Regions from separate parts of the Homo sapiens genome. Here all the other regions are linked to region 1. Evidence: promoter capture Hi-C in 16 types of primary human blood cells and fetal thymus (Javierre and others, 2016). All regions are on one chromosome and are shown on one strand. The core of a region is centred on a gene start or on the middle of the fragment in contact, and the rest is flanking DNA. Distances in the headings are between cores, read along the strand shown. Region 1 holds the start of COQ2 (coenzyme Q2, polyprenyltransferase). Region 2 overlaps LIN54 (lin-54 DREAM MuvB core complex component). Region 3 overlaps SEC31A (SEC31 homolog A, COPII component).

Region 1 (3,559 bases), core at 690-3,189:
TTGCCTTCTGTTACATGGCGGAAGGTCCAGCCACTAAGATAGAAGCCAGAGGTTTAACTGGGGAAATGGGAATAATGGCAGATGTTCATCTATAAGGCTACACTGCCACTCCATGCCACAGACTCCAAGAACAGAATTACAGCCAGGCTTCAGATTGGAACTGGGCTTGGAAATGCATGCCTCTCAACGTGAATGTGGCCCCAAAACTCATGGGGGTCATACACAGCTTCCCAATGATGGCAGGGCTGTACCTATCATTCAGTAGGCTTTTATGCTTTGATAGCTGATTGTTATAACTTAGTGCTCTAATCCCAAATAGGTCGTGCATAAATCTAGAATACCAAAAGCAAGGCCTAATTCGGGTCTTGTACGGGCAAAAGTGGAGTAAATGTACCTAGGCCTTTGACTACATCTCCATACACTGCAATGGCAAATGTCATCATCTAGATTGGCTGGAGTTCATCCTTCACTTCTTCCTCCACGCTATCCAGCTTCTTCAGATATGTTCTTGTCTAGTCTCGTTTCCCATTTTCCACACCCACTTGGTGTTCCAGGTCAGGCTCGTATTCTTAGTGTTCTAACACTCCACCCTTGGGTCTTTGCAAAAGTACTTCCCGCACTAAGATCTCTTCCCTCCTCTGCAAAATCAACTTGTCCTTTGGAGTATAATTTCTTCTCGAAACTTTCCAGCAAGGGATCCACAGTAATTTCTCTTTTTCCTGTAGCACTTGCTTTTGTATCACTCATATTTGATCCATATTTTCCTAGCTCACCAAATAGTCTTTTTCAACTAGACCAGAGTTCCTTGAAAGCAAAGGGTTTCCATAGCTTTTTCTATCTCTATGGCCGGACAACGTAGTAGGAACTTATTAATTCACTTAACACTACTGGAGAAGCCAATCAATCAACAAGCGCATAAGGTTAGTTAGTGGTGAGTGCTATTAAGAAAAATTGCGGATAAAGCGATAGAAAGTGAGGTTGGTAGGTGTTAATTAAGATAGGAAGGTCAGGAAAATCTTTCTGTCGGGGGCGATTGTAAGCTGACAGGCAGTCCGTAAGCGCTGTCCCTGCTGCGTTCAAATGAATTAAATCTTTGCCTTATGGGTGATGCAGGTAAAAGAGCTCCGACTCAGCATCAAAACACAGAGTTCTTCTGGTCTGGCTCTGACGAGGAGCCTTAGTTTCCTCAGCGTCTTAACTGTCTTAAGGATTGTCTTTGTGGGCCTTACAAGATTGCGGGGAGGATCAAACATTCTAATAAATGAAGGAGGGCCACGAGAACGGAACCTTCCGCTTGAGTCACCATTTAAACAAGTGTTTGTGGAATGAGAATTATCTTGCCCGCTTCAGGTGCTCAGGATGCAGACAGACGTGAAACTGGCGGGTCCTTTAGGAGACTGTCCCGACTGCGTGTCCTGAGGTGACTCGCCCCAGGGCGCACGGCAGCCGGCAGCCAAGCTCAAGCTTTCAGGCTCTCATTTCAAAGTGTCCCGAGGTGATTCGCCCCAGGGCGCACGGCACCCGGCAGCCAAGCCCAAGCTTTCAGGTTCTCATTTCCATCACGCCCCGGCCGGCCGCCGCGGACAGCTCCGCGGAGCCGACTCGGAGGCTGCTACTTGCAAATTCCCGGGCTGCCCGCCCGCCCGCACTCACCAATGGGCTTGTCCAACCGCATGAGGCGCAAGTACGGCTGCAGGGGGCGGGGCGCAGAGTCCACCACCGCCGCCGCGGACAAACTGAGCTGGCGCCCGCGCGGCTCGGGACAGGCGGGGGGCTGCAAGTCACCACCGTGGGGCGCGCCTGCCGCACGCGCCAGGGCGAAGGAGCGGCCCCGCCAGCCCGGCAGCCACGCCAGTGCCACAGCCCGCAGGCCCCGCGCGAACCCCGCGGCTCGCGAGCCCAGCATGGCGCTGGTGAGGCCGGGACGAGCTCGGATTGACGTCATTCCCCGGCAGGCATGCGCAGTGGCACCCGCAGGATGCAATCCTAGTCTGCCAGGCTGGGCGGCGGTGTGGGCAGAACCTTTCCTCATCCTTACTTGTGAAATTGGGGTCATCGTGGTCGCTTACTCTAGGGAGGAATACTTAATGAAAAAGGGATTTCTATTGGCAAAAGGCAAAAAAATTACAATAAATTTAGTTGTAATTTTTTACAACTCGATCTTGATTGACTTTGTGGTTCCATTATCGGGCAACACTCAGAACGGGGTCTCTGAGGAAACAAACAAAAAATAGAATCGGGCAACACCTTATTCTGTAAAATAGAATAAGTGTTCCAAAGAGTCGAGCGGAGGAAGTTGGCTTTATAGACAGAAAAAGGGCTGAAGAAAGCAGAAGCAGAGAACAAAAAGCGGATTGGTCACTTCAAATTACTTTCATTGCGAGGCGGGGACAGGGAAACAACAACAGAGAAATAACGGATTGGTTAACATTAGGTTACACCAGGTTAAGGACTAAAACAGGAAACTTAATTGTCATGACGATTGCATTTTGAAATGGCCTGGTTGGAAAATTGGCTGTTGTCTCTCTTTCCTGACTTCTCAGAATGTCAGATACAACTTAGTTTTAGTTTGGTGACTTGGAACTTTAGCATGGGTGACTCTTGATTCTTAGTCTGATCTGTTGGGACCTAGTGCAGGAACTTAGTTCAAAACAATGGCCCCCTATAATTTAACCCTATTATCAGCTTTCTCCATAAAATGAAAAGGATAGTGTTTATTCATATGGAACAGTTGTACCAGGAAAAAAAAAAAAAAGCTTTGAAAAACCTACTGAATCCAAAAGAAGAATTTGCGTACACGTTTAGCCATAAAAAAAAAAAAGGGCACCAAGTGGCCACATACAAGACTGTAAATTAAAATCGCATTCAGGGTTAAGGGATGTTCATTACACAAGTGAAAATTTTAAATTTGACAGCCCTTCAAAGGAGTTTTTGTAATCAGTAGACAACCAGCATGTGTGATGCTAAGAACCTGAAGCTGAAAAGTCTGGTCAGCAGAGTCTTGCTCTGTCATCCAGGCTGGAGACCAGTGGAGGGATCATGGCTCACTGCAGCCTCCACCTCTTGGGCTCAATCGATCCTCCCATCTCAGCATTCTAAATATCTGGGACCACAGACACGAGCCACCGTGGCTGGCTAATTTTTAATTTTTCATAGAGAGGAGGTCTCACTATATTGCCCAGGTTGGTCTTGAACAGCTGGGCTAAAGAGATCCTCCTGCCTCAGATGGTCAGTACTCTTATTCATAAGCAACTCTGTATATCGCTGTGTGCCAGGCACTTTACATGTATCAACTCATTTAACCTCTCACTGAGTAACCCTAGGCAAGTCACTCATCTGGATTTTAATATTCTAGGAAGTTGACTTAGTCTTTAGGCTCCTTTCTGTAAAACATGTACAATGATTCTGTGACTTCTTGCATGGCTCAAGTACAGCAAGTTGGATGCCTGGCCACTTTGGTGCAATGAGGCAGGGGGTACCTAGCCTTTCTCCTGCCTGCAAAGAATAAAGGCCAGCAGGCAATTTAGTAACACTCCTAGTTGTTAGATTGGAGATGATT
Region 2 (3,766 bases), core at 550-3,049, 290 kb before region 1:
CGGGCATGGTGGCTCACACCTGTAATCTCAGAACTTTTGAGAGGTCAAGATGGCTCACTTGTGGCCATGGGTTTGAGACCAGTCGGGACAACATATCAAGACCCCATCTCAACAAAATAAAGATAAAAATTAGCTGGGTGTGGTAGGGCCTGCTTGTAGTCCTAGCTCACACTCCCTTGACTTGGAGGCTGTAGCAAGCAAACCACGACACAGTGGCGTGAACACGACTCACTGAAGCGTCGAATTCCCAGGCTCAAGCAATCCTCCTGCCTCAGCCCCGCAAGTAGCTGGGACTAGAGGCATGCACCACGATGCCTGGCTTTTGTTTTGTAAAAATGAGGTGTCCCCGGCCAGGCGTGGTGGCTCACGCCTGTAATCCCAGCACTTTGGGAGGCCAAGGTGGGTGGATCACGAGGTCAGGAGATTGAGACCATCCTGGTTAACACGGTGAAACCCCGTCTCTACTAAAAATACAAAAAATTAGCCGGGCATGGTAGCAGGTGCCTGTAGTCCCAGCTACTCGGGAGGCTGAGGCAGGAGAATGGCGTGAACCCAGGAGGCGGAGCTTGCAGTGAGCTGAGATCACGCCACTGCACTCCAGCCTGGGTGACAAAGCGAGACTCTGTCTCAGAAAAAAAAAAAAAAAAAGAAATGAGGTTTTACCACGTTGCCTAGGCTGGTCTCAAACTCCTGAGCTCAAGTGATCTGCCCAGCTTGGCCTCTCAGCATGCACCACTGTGCCTGGCCCATTTTTTATTTAAATTAACTATTATCTTTACCTCTTTGCTTCTGTTTGATTTGTTCTTCTTTTTCTAGAATCTTTTTTTTTTTTTTTGAGATGGAGTTTCACTCTTGTTGCCCAGGCTGAAGTGCAATGGTGCAATCTTGGCTCACTGCAACCTCCGCCACCTGGGTTCAAGCGGTTCTCCTGCCTCAGCCTCCCAAGTAGCTGGGATTATAGGCATGCGCCACCACCCCTGGCTAATTTTTTGTATTTTTAGTAGAGACAGGGTTTCTCCATGTTGGTCAAGCTGGTCTCAAACTCCAGACCTCAGGTGATCCGCCTGCCTCGGCCTCCCAAAGTGCTGGGATCACAGCGGTGAGCCACCGCGCCCGGCTAGAATCTTAAGATGGAAACACAGATCAGGGTTCACCAAAATACTAAATGATGCCCATGGTCTTTATATATTGCTTCCTACCTAAAAATGGTTTTTTGTTTGTTTCTTTGTTTGTTTTTGAGACAGTGCCTCACTCTGTCACCCAGGCTGGAGTGCAGTGGTGTGATCTTGGCTCACTTCAACCTCTGCTTCCCAGGTTCAAGCAACTCTCCTGCCTCAGCCTCCCAAGTAGCTGGGATTAGAGGCGCATGCCACCATGCCGGCTACTTTTGTATTTTTAGCAGAGATGGGGTTGCACCATGTTGGTCAGGCTGGTCTTGAACTTCTGATCTCAACTGATCCACCTGCCTCAGCATCCCAAAGTGCTGGGATTACAGGCATGAGCCACTACGCCTGGCCTGATATTTACATTTTTAAATGGTTGGGGCAAGGGGGAATATGACAGACTTACATGACTTACAAAGCCTCCAATATTTGCTACCTGGAGCTTTACACAAAAAGTCTGTCAACTCCTGGTTTAAATGATTGATTGATTTTAAAACTTTCTTCTTTTTTACAGTAAGCCTTTAATATGAAAACTTTTCCCCAAAGCTCTTTAGATGTATTCCATTAATTTCAATACGTTTTTATTATCATTCACTTCAAATGTTTTCTAATATTGCTTGTGATTTTACCTGACACATGGATAATAAAGAAGTGTGCCATTTAATTCCCAAGCACTTGGAGATTTTCTAGCTATGCTATTATTATTGATTACTAATTTAATTATAGTATTGTCAGAGAACATAATACTCTTTAACATTCTCATCATTTGAAATTAGAGACTTATTTTTTGACTCAGTATACGGTCTCTCTTGGTGAATCCTCCTTGTGCATTTTAAAAGAATTTTTTTTTTTTTGAGACAGAGTCTTGCCCTGTCACCCATGCTGGAGTGCAGTGGCGCAATCTGGGCTCACTGCAACCTCCACCTCCCCGGTTCAAGCAATTCCCCTGCCTCAGCCTCCCAAGTAGCTGGGATTACAGGTGCATGGCACCACGCCCAGTTAATTTTTTTGTATTTTTAGTAGAGACAGGGTTTCACCATGTTGGCCAGACTGGTCTCGAACTCCTGACCTTAGGCAATCCGCCCTCCTTGGCCTCCCGAAGTGCTGGGATTACAGGCATGAGCCACCTTGCCCAGCCAAGAACATTTTTTTTAATAGTTGCTGAGGGTAGTATTCTATTTATGTCAGTTAGCAAAAGCTGGTTGATAGAGTTATTCAGATCTTTGATATCCTTAATAAATTTTTAGGGTGTTAAAATCCCCAAATATGGTGGTGGATTTGTTTACGTCTCCCCTTCTGCACATTTTTGCTTCATATATTTTGAAGTTCTGTTGTCAGAAGAACATACGTTTTTACCTGTCCTGTTAAAAGAGACTGAGAATTATAGGAGTGGGACTCTCCCTTTGAACTAGGAGCAAAGTCCAAACTTCTAACAAGAAAAGGTCTGGGCCAGGTTCAGTGGCTCACACCTGTAATCCCAACACTCTGGGAGGCCAAGGCAAGAGGACTGCTTAAGTCCAGGAGTTGGAGACCAGCCTGGGCACAACATGGTAAGACCTTCTTCTCTACAAAAAAATAATTTTTAAAAATTAGCCAGGCGTGGTGGGGCATGTCTAAAGTCCCAGCTACTCGGGAGGCTGAGACAGGAGGAAAGTGTAATCTCAGAAGTTTGAAGCTGCAGTGAGGTATGATAGTGCCACTGCACTCTGGCCTGGGTGACTGGGTAAGATCCTGTCTCTGGGGGGAAAAAAATTAATTTAATTTAATTTTAATTTATTTTTAATTTAAATTTAATTTTTTTTTAAAAAAGGTCTGATTGGTTTGGCCAGAGTCTATGTAATAGACAGAGACTATTCCAGAGCCAGGATAGCTCATAAACTACAGAACAGAATATAGATGACTGTCTTATGATTACACATCCTTATCTCTTTTTTTTTTTTTTTTTTTTTTTTGGGATGGAGTCTCGCTCTGTCACCCAGGCTGGAGTGTAGTGGCACAATCTCAGTTCACTGCAACCTCTGCCTCCAGGGTTCAAGCAATTCTCCTGCCTCTGCCTCCCAAGTAGCTGGGACTACAGGTGCGTGCCACCACACCCGGCTAATTTTTTGTATTTTTAGTAAAGGCAGGGTTTTACCATGTTAGCCAGGCTGGTCTACATGTCCTGACCTCGTGATCCACCCACCCGCCTCGGTCTCCCAAAGTGCTGGGATTACAGGCGTCAGCCTCTACTCCTGGCCTCCCTGTTTGTTTCAATCAGGGTCACATGCAGGGCATGGTGGCCTATGCTAAAAGAAAGTTTCAGGACCAGGCACGGTGGCTCACACCTGTAATCCCAGCACTTTGGGAGGCCAAGGTGGGTGGATCACCTGAGGTCAGGAGTTCAAGACCAGCCTGAGCAACATGGAGAAACCCCGTCTCTACTAAAAATACAAAATTAGCTGGGCGTGGTGGCTCATGCCTGTAATCCCAGCTACTCGGGAGGCTGAGGCAGGAGAATTGCTTGAACCCGGGAGGCGGAGGTTGCGGTGAGCCGAAATCATGAGCAAAACTCCATCTCAAAAAAAAAGAGAAAGTTTCAGAAGGACTGGGCATGGCAGGAAAGG
Region 3 (3,913 bases), core at 274-2,773, 430 kb before region 1:
TTATTCATCAAGATATCCCTTTTTGTTCATAATGCTGGGTATTATACAATAGACCCTGACACACAGATTTGACATTGTGCTTTCTACTACTCAAGACTGGCACCAAAGGTCCATGACATACAGTGCAACTTGTAATTTAACTGAGGCAGAGATCTGAGTTATACCTACCTCATGGTTACTATGCAAGACCAATATCACTTATTACTACTCTTTTGATGTTTTCTTGTGGTTACCTAATGCTCATAAATTACAAAACTACTTTAAAAACTATAACTAAGGCCAGGCGCAGAGGTTCACGCCTGCAATCCCAGCACTTTGGGAGGCCGAGGCAGGCAGATCATGAGGTCAGGAGATCGAGACCATCCTGGCTAACACGGTGAAACCCCATCTCTACTCAAAATACAAAAAATTAGCTGGGTGTGGTGGCGGGCACCTGTAGTCCCAGTTACTCGGGAGGCTGAGGCAGAAGAATGGCGTGAACCAGGGAGGCGGCACTTGCAGTGAGCTGAGAACATACCACTGCACTCCAGCCTGGGCGACAGAGCAAGAATCCGTCTCAAAAAAAAAAAAAAAAAACTATAACTAAAAGAGGCCACCAAAGAGAATCAACTACTAAAGGTGGTTATTGAAGAAAATGGTGATTTAAGAAAGAGATGAAAATGTTAAAAGAGATTTTTGAAATAAAGATTAAGATGTGAAATTCAGATCTGTAGCTCATACAGATCTACATGCATAGAGACTTACAAAAGTATGAGGTGACCCTATATATGCTCTAAGTATTAACAAATAACAAAAAGGCAATGTGTTAAAATGTTTCAGCAAGATTTTAGTATCTTTAAAAATTATACATTCCTATATATTTGTTAAAGGTTTAAAGGGATCATTTAAATGTTTTAGGCATATTTTATTTGCCTTTTGGGGGGGAGAATTATATATTACAATGCTATCACAAAGTCTCAGGACGTATTCCCCCCACCAAAAAAGGCAGGGTCTACTGAGATAAATAGGAAACAACATCAAAATTATGCTTTTTGGCCTAAAGAATGTTCTTTAAAGTCCAAAAAAAAAAAAGCATGAAGAATAATGTATAGAAAATGGATGTGCTTATAAATGGTACTGAAAATGAATTAAGCTAGATGAGCTACGGGTCTTAAAGCAAATTAGTCTTAAGATAAAGGTTCTTATAATATACCTCAATATAACTATTTACTTATAACTTTTTACTTATTAGGTAAAAAGTCTTAACAAAACTAGTATGCCAAAGTCACCATAAAGGAAAAGATTATGTATCAGCTATTCTATCTAACATTCCCATCAACAATTCAGAAACAAATGAGATGGATCTTACAGCTAAGTGTATACAAAACCAACTAGAGAGTCCTACCTCCATAGTCCTGGAGAATATTATGTACTTTTACTCAATGAAATTTATCAATAATTCTCTAAAACAGACAAAATACTAGAAACAATTGACTAAAAAAATACATAAAATACAGAATAAAGTGATTAATAAAAAAGTACAGAGACAAGACTGTATCTGCAAGGCTCAAAATCAAGCTCCATCAGACACAAAATGCAGATATATTGTTGTGGAAAAGTTTCCTCAAACCTCACCCGTACTTTTACCCATGCTCCATAACTGGGTTTGGGTTTCCCTTTGTTGGGTTCCACAGCACCAATACCCTTATCACAGTACTTATATCACACTTCTGGAATCTCATGTTTACTTGTCCATAGCCAAATTGAGTTTGGAGGCTTCCTAGAGGAAGGATCTTGGCAATCTTATTCACCATTCTATACCCACTTGTTGAATTGAATTGAAACAAGTATAGTTTTGCCCAAGTTTTATTGTGCAATAAGTAAGGACAATCTAATTAGTTCCCTCTGCTCTGAATACATAAAAATATACTTGCCCACAGACAGTATCAAACTAAAATGGCATACAGAATGAACTTCAATACTATCTGGGATGGAACATATGGGATTTTAAAAATGTTAACAACTCCATTTGTTTGATTAAACATTAACATTTATAGCTTTTTGACATAAAATATTCCTACAAAGAACTTTGTATGAAGAATCAGCATTTGGCTTTAGAAATAAAAAGTTGGTCTTTTCCCTGTTCATTTTCCTAAAATACTATGTCGGTACAAAGGAATCTATCGCACTGCAAGATTATCCTATCTCTCTAACACAGCTTAGATACACCTAAAATGATCCCTGAAGAATTGTCAATAACATTTACCTGCAGTCAGGTTACAGAAATTCAACTGCTCCAAAACATTCTACCTACTAATATGTTTACATCTAATGCTAAGTGTTATCTACTGGACTCACCTTACTCAAACATTACAAAAATGGTCAATTCTAATTACCTGGTTGGTGTTGTCAGGAAGAAAAGCCAAGGCTGCAGCAATACTGCCCTGAGCTGCCAACAAATTGGCATACTGACTCATCTTCGCAGCCAAGAGAACTCCTACAGTACTAGTGTCCATGGCTTGAGTGAGTTGCACAGCTTTTCGCAGGATGACAACTTTCTCAATCAGATCCTAAATGAAAAAAATGAGTAACAAACAGAAATATCAAGACCATGTATGAGAGGAAGCAGGAAAAGATCAAGAGTTACTAAGATTTCTAAAACCCACTAAAAATATAGTACCTGTTATCATCCCTCCTAGAAAAGTACAGCCACTATTTAGGTAAGTGAAAAAGTAGTAAGGAGGAAGAAGGCCTCTTACTTATGGATAGGGTAGGATAGGAAGGTTACCACCTTTTCCTAAATATCCTTAAGCTACCAGATACTTGTCTAGTGAGCTAAAACAGGCAAATACTCAAAGTGAAAATGATAGGCAGATGTCTAAAGGTAGAAACTGTGTTCTAGCCTGTATGGGAGGAACTATGAGTGAAAATATCTGATATGGTTTGGTTGTGTCCCCACCCAAATCTCATCTTGAATTCTAGCTCCCATAATCCCCATGTGTCATGGGAGAAACCCAGTGGGAGGTAATTGAATCATGGGTCAGGTTTTTCCAGTGCTGTTCTCTTGACAGTGATCTGATGGTTTTATAAAGGGCAGTTCCCCTGCACATGCTCTCTTGCCTGCCACCATGTAAGACGTGCCTTTGCTCCTCCTTCACCTTGAGCCATGACTGTGAGGCCTCCCCAGTCATGTGGAACTGTGAGTTCATTAAACCTCTTTTTCTTTATAAACTACCCAGTCTTGGGTATTTCTTCATTGCAGTATGAAAATGGACTAATACAACATCACACCATCTATCCTATAAAAATAGTACTACTATGAGGTGACCCATAGACAGAGGCATGTGATTTCCAAAGGAGTTTACTATTTTAACTCAAAGCTCTCATGTGCCATTCAATACCAAATCTTTCCACAATGGGGAGCTATGCTTCTGGTAGAAAGCAGAAGGATAGCCTACCTTTCTGCCTTTCCTAAGTGCATAAATCCAAAAGGGTAAAACAAGTGTTTTTCTCTGAGAAGCTCTTAAAAGGAAAACCTTGATTTCCTACCCATTTTTTTTGTTTCAATAGAGTGATCTTTAAAGCACTGACTCTGTTGAGAAAATCTCTTTCCAGAAAGAGAAATATTATATGGTAAAATTATCATAAGCCTCTTTGATTTAAATGCTTAGAAAAAAATATCTAATATATAGTTAGTACCTGAGAATAGTCCCCACATTTTCTACTTCCTCTCTTGCTTGTGTATTGGTGTCACATGGCAGTGGTCCCCAACCTATTTGGCACCAGGGACTGGTTTCGTGGAAGACAATTTTTCCACAGGCCAGCAGGGGGGATGGTTTCAGGATAAAACTGTTCCACCTGGCCTGTTCCATAAGGTATTAGATTCTGATAAGGAGGATACAACCTAGATCCGTTGCATGCACAGCCCACATAA

The links. The method cuts DNA at HindIII sites, captures the fragments that hold promoters and counts their contacts. A CHiCAGO score of 5 or more calls a contact.
Region 2: a contact is called between a fragment that was not itself captured here and the fragment with the promoter of COQ2 in region 1, in 3 of 17 cell types (total CD8 T cells, naive B cells and total CD4 T cells). The highest score is 6.8, in total CD8 T cells.
Region 3: a contact is called between a fragment that was not itself captured here and the fragment with the promoter of COQ2 in region 1, in 1 of 17 cell types (total CD4 T cells). The highest score is 5.3, in total CD4 T cells.

Annotation. Positions count from the first base shown.
Region 1 is chr4:83,282,859-83,286,417 of GRCh38, forward strand. It overlaps COQ2 (coenzyme Q2, polyprenyltransferase), which reads right to left and starts at 1,940. Exons shown (of 7, transcript NM_001358921.2): 1 at 1,654-1,940. The coding sequence starts at 1,906. RefSeq lists enhancers at 1,343-1,582, 1,778-2,072 and a silencer at 1,643-1,972. The HindIII fragment of the contact is 1,217 bases long and covers 1,538-2,754 here.
Region 2 is chr4:82,992,399-82,996,164 of GRCh38, forward strand. The region is part of intron 1 of LIN54 (lin-54 DREAM MuvB core complex component); the gene reads right to left. Among named protein-coding and RNA genes, the nearest start is that of LIN54, 17 kb to the right of the region's middle. The HindIII fragment of the contact is 4,223 bases long and covers 1-3,766 here.
Region 3 is chr4:82,849,056-82,852,968 of GRCh38, forward strand. It overlaps SEC31A (SEC31 homolog A, COPII component), which reads right to left. Exons shown (of 27, transcript NM_001077207.4): 19 at 2,376-2,549. Among named protein-coding and RNA genes, the nearest start is that of SEC31A, 40 kb to the right of the region's middle. The HindIII fragment of the contact is 6,463 bases long and covers 1-3,913 here.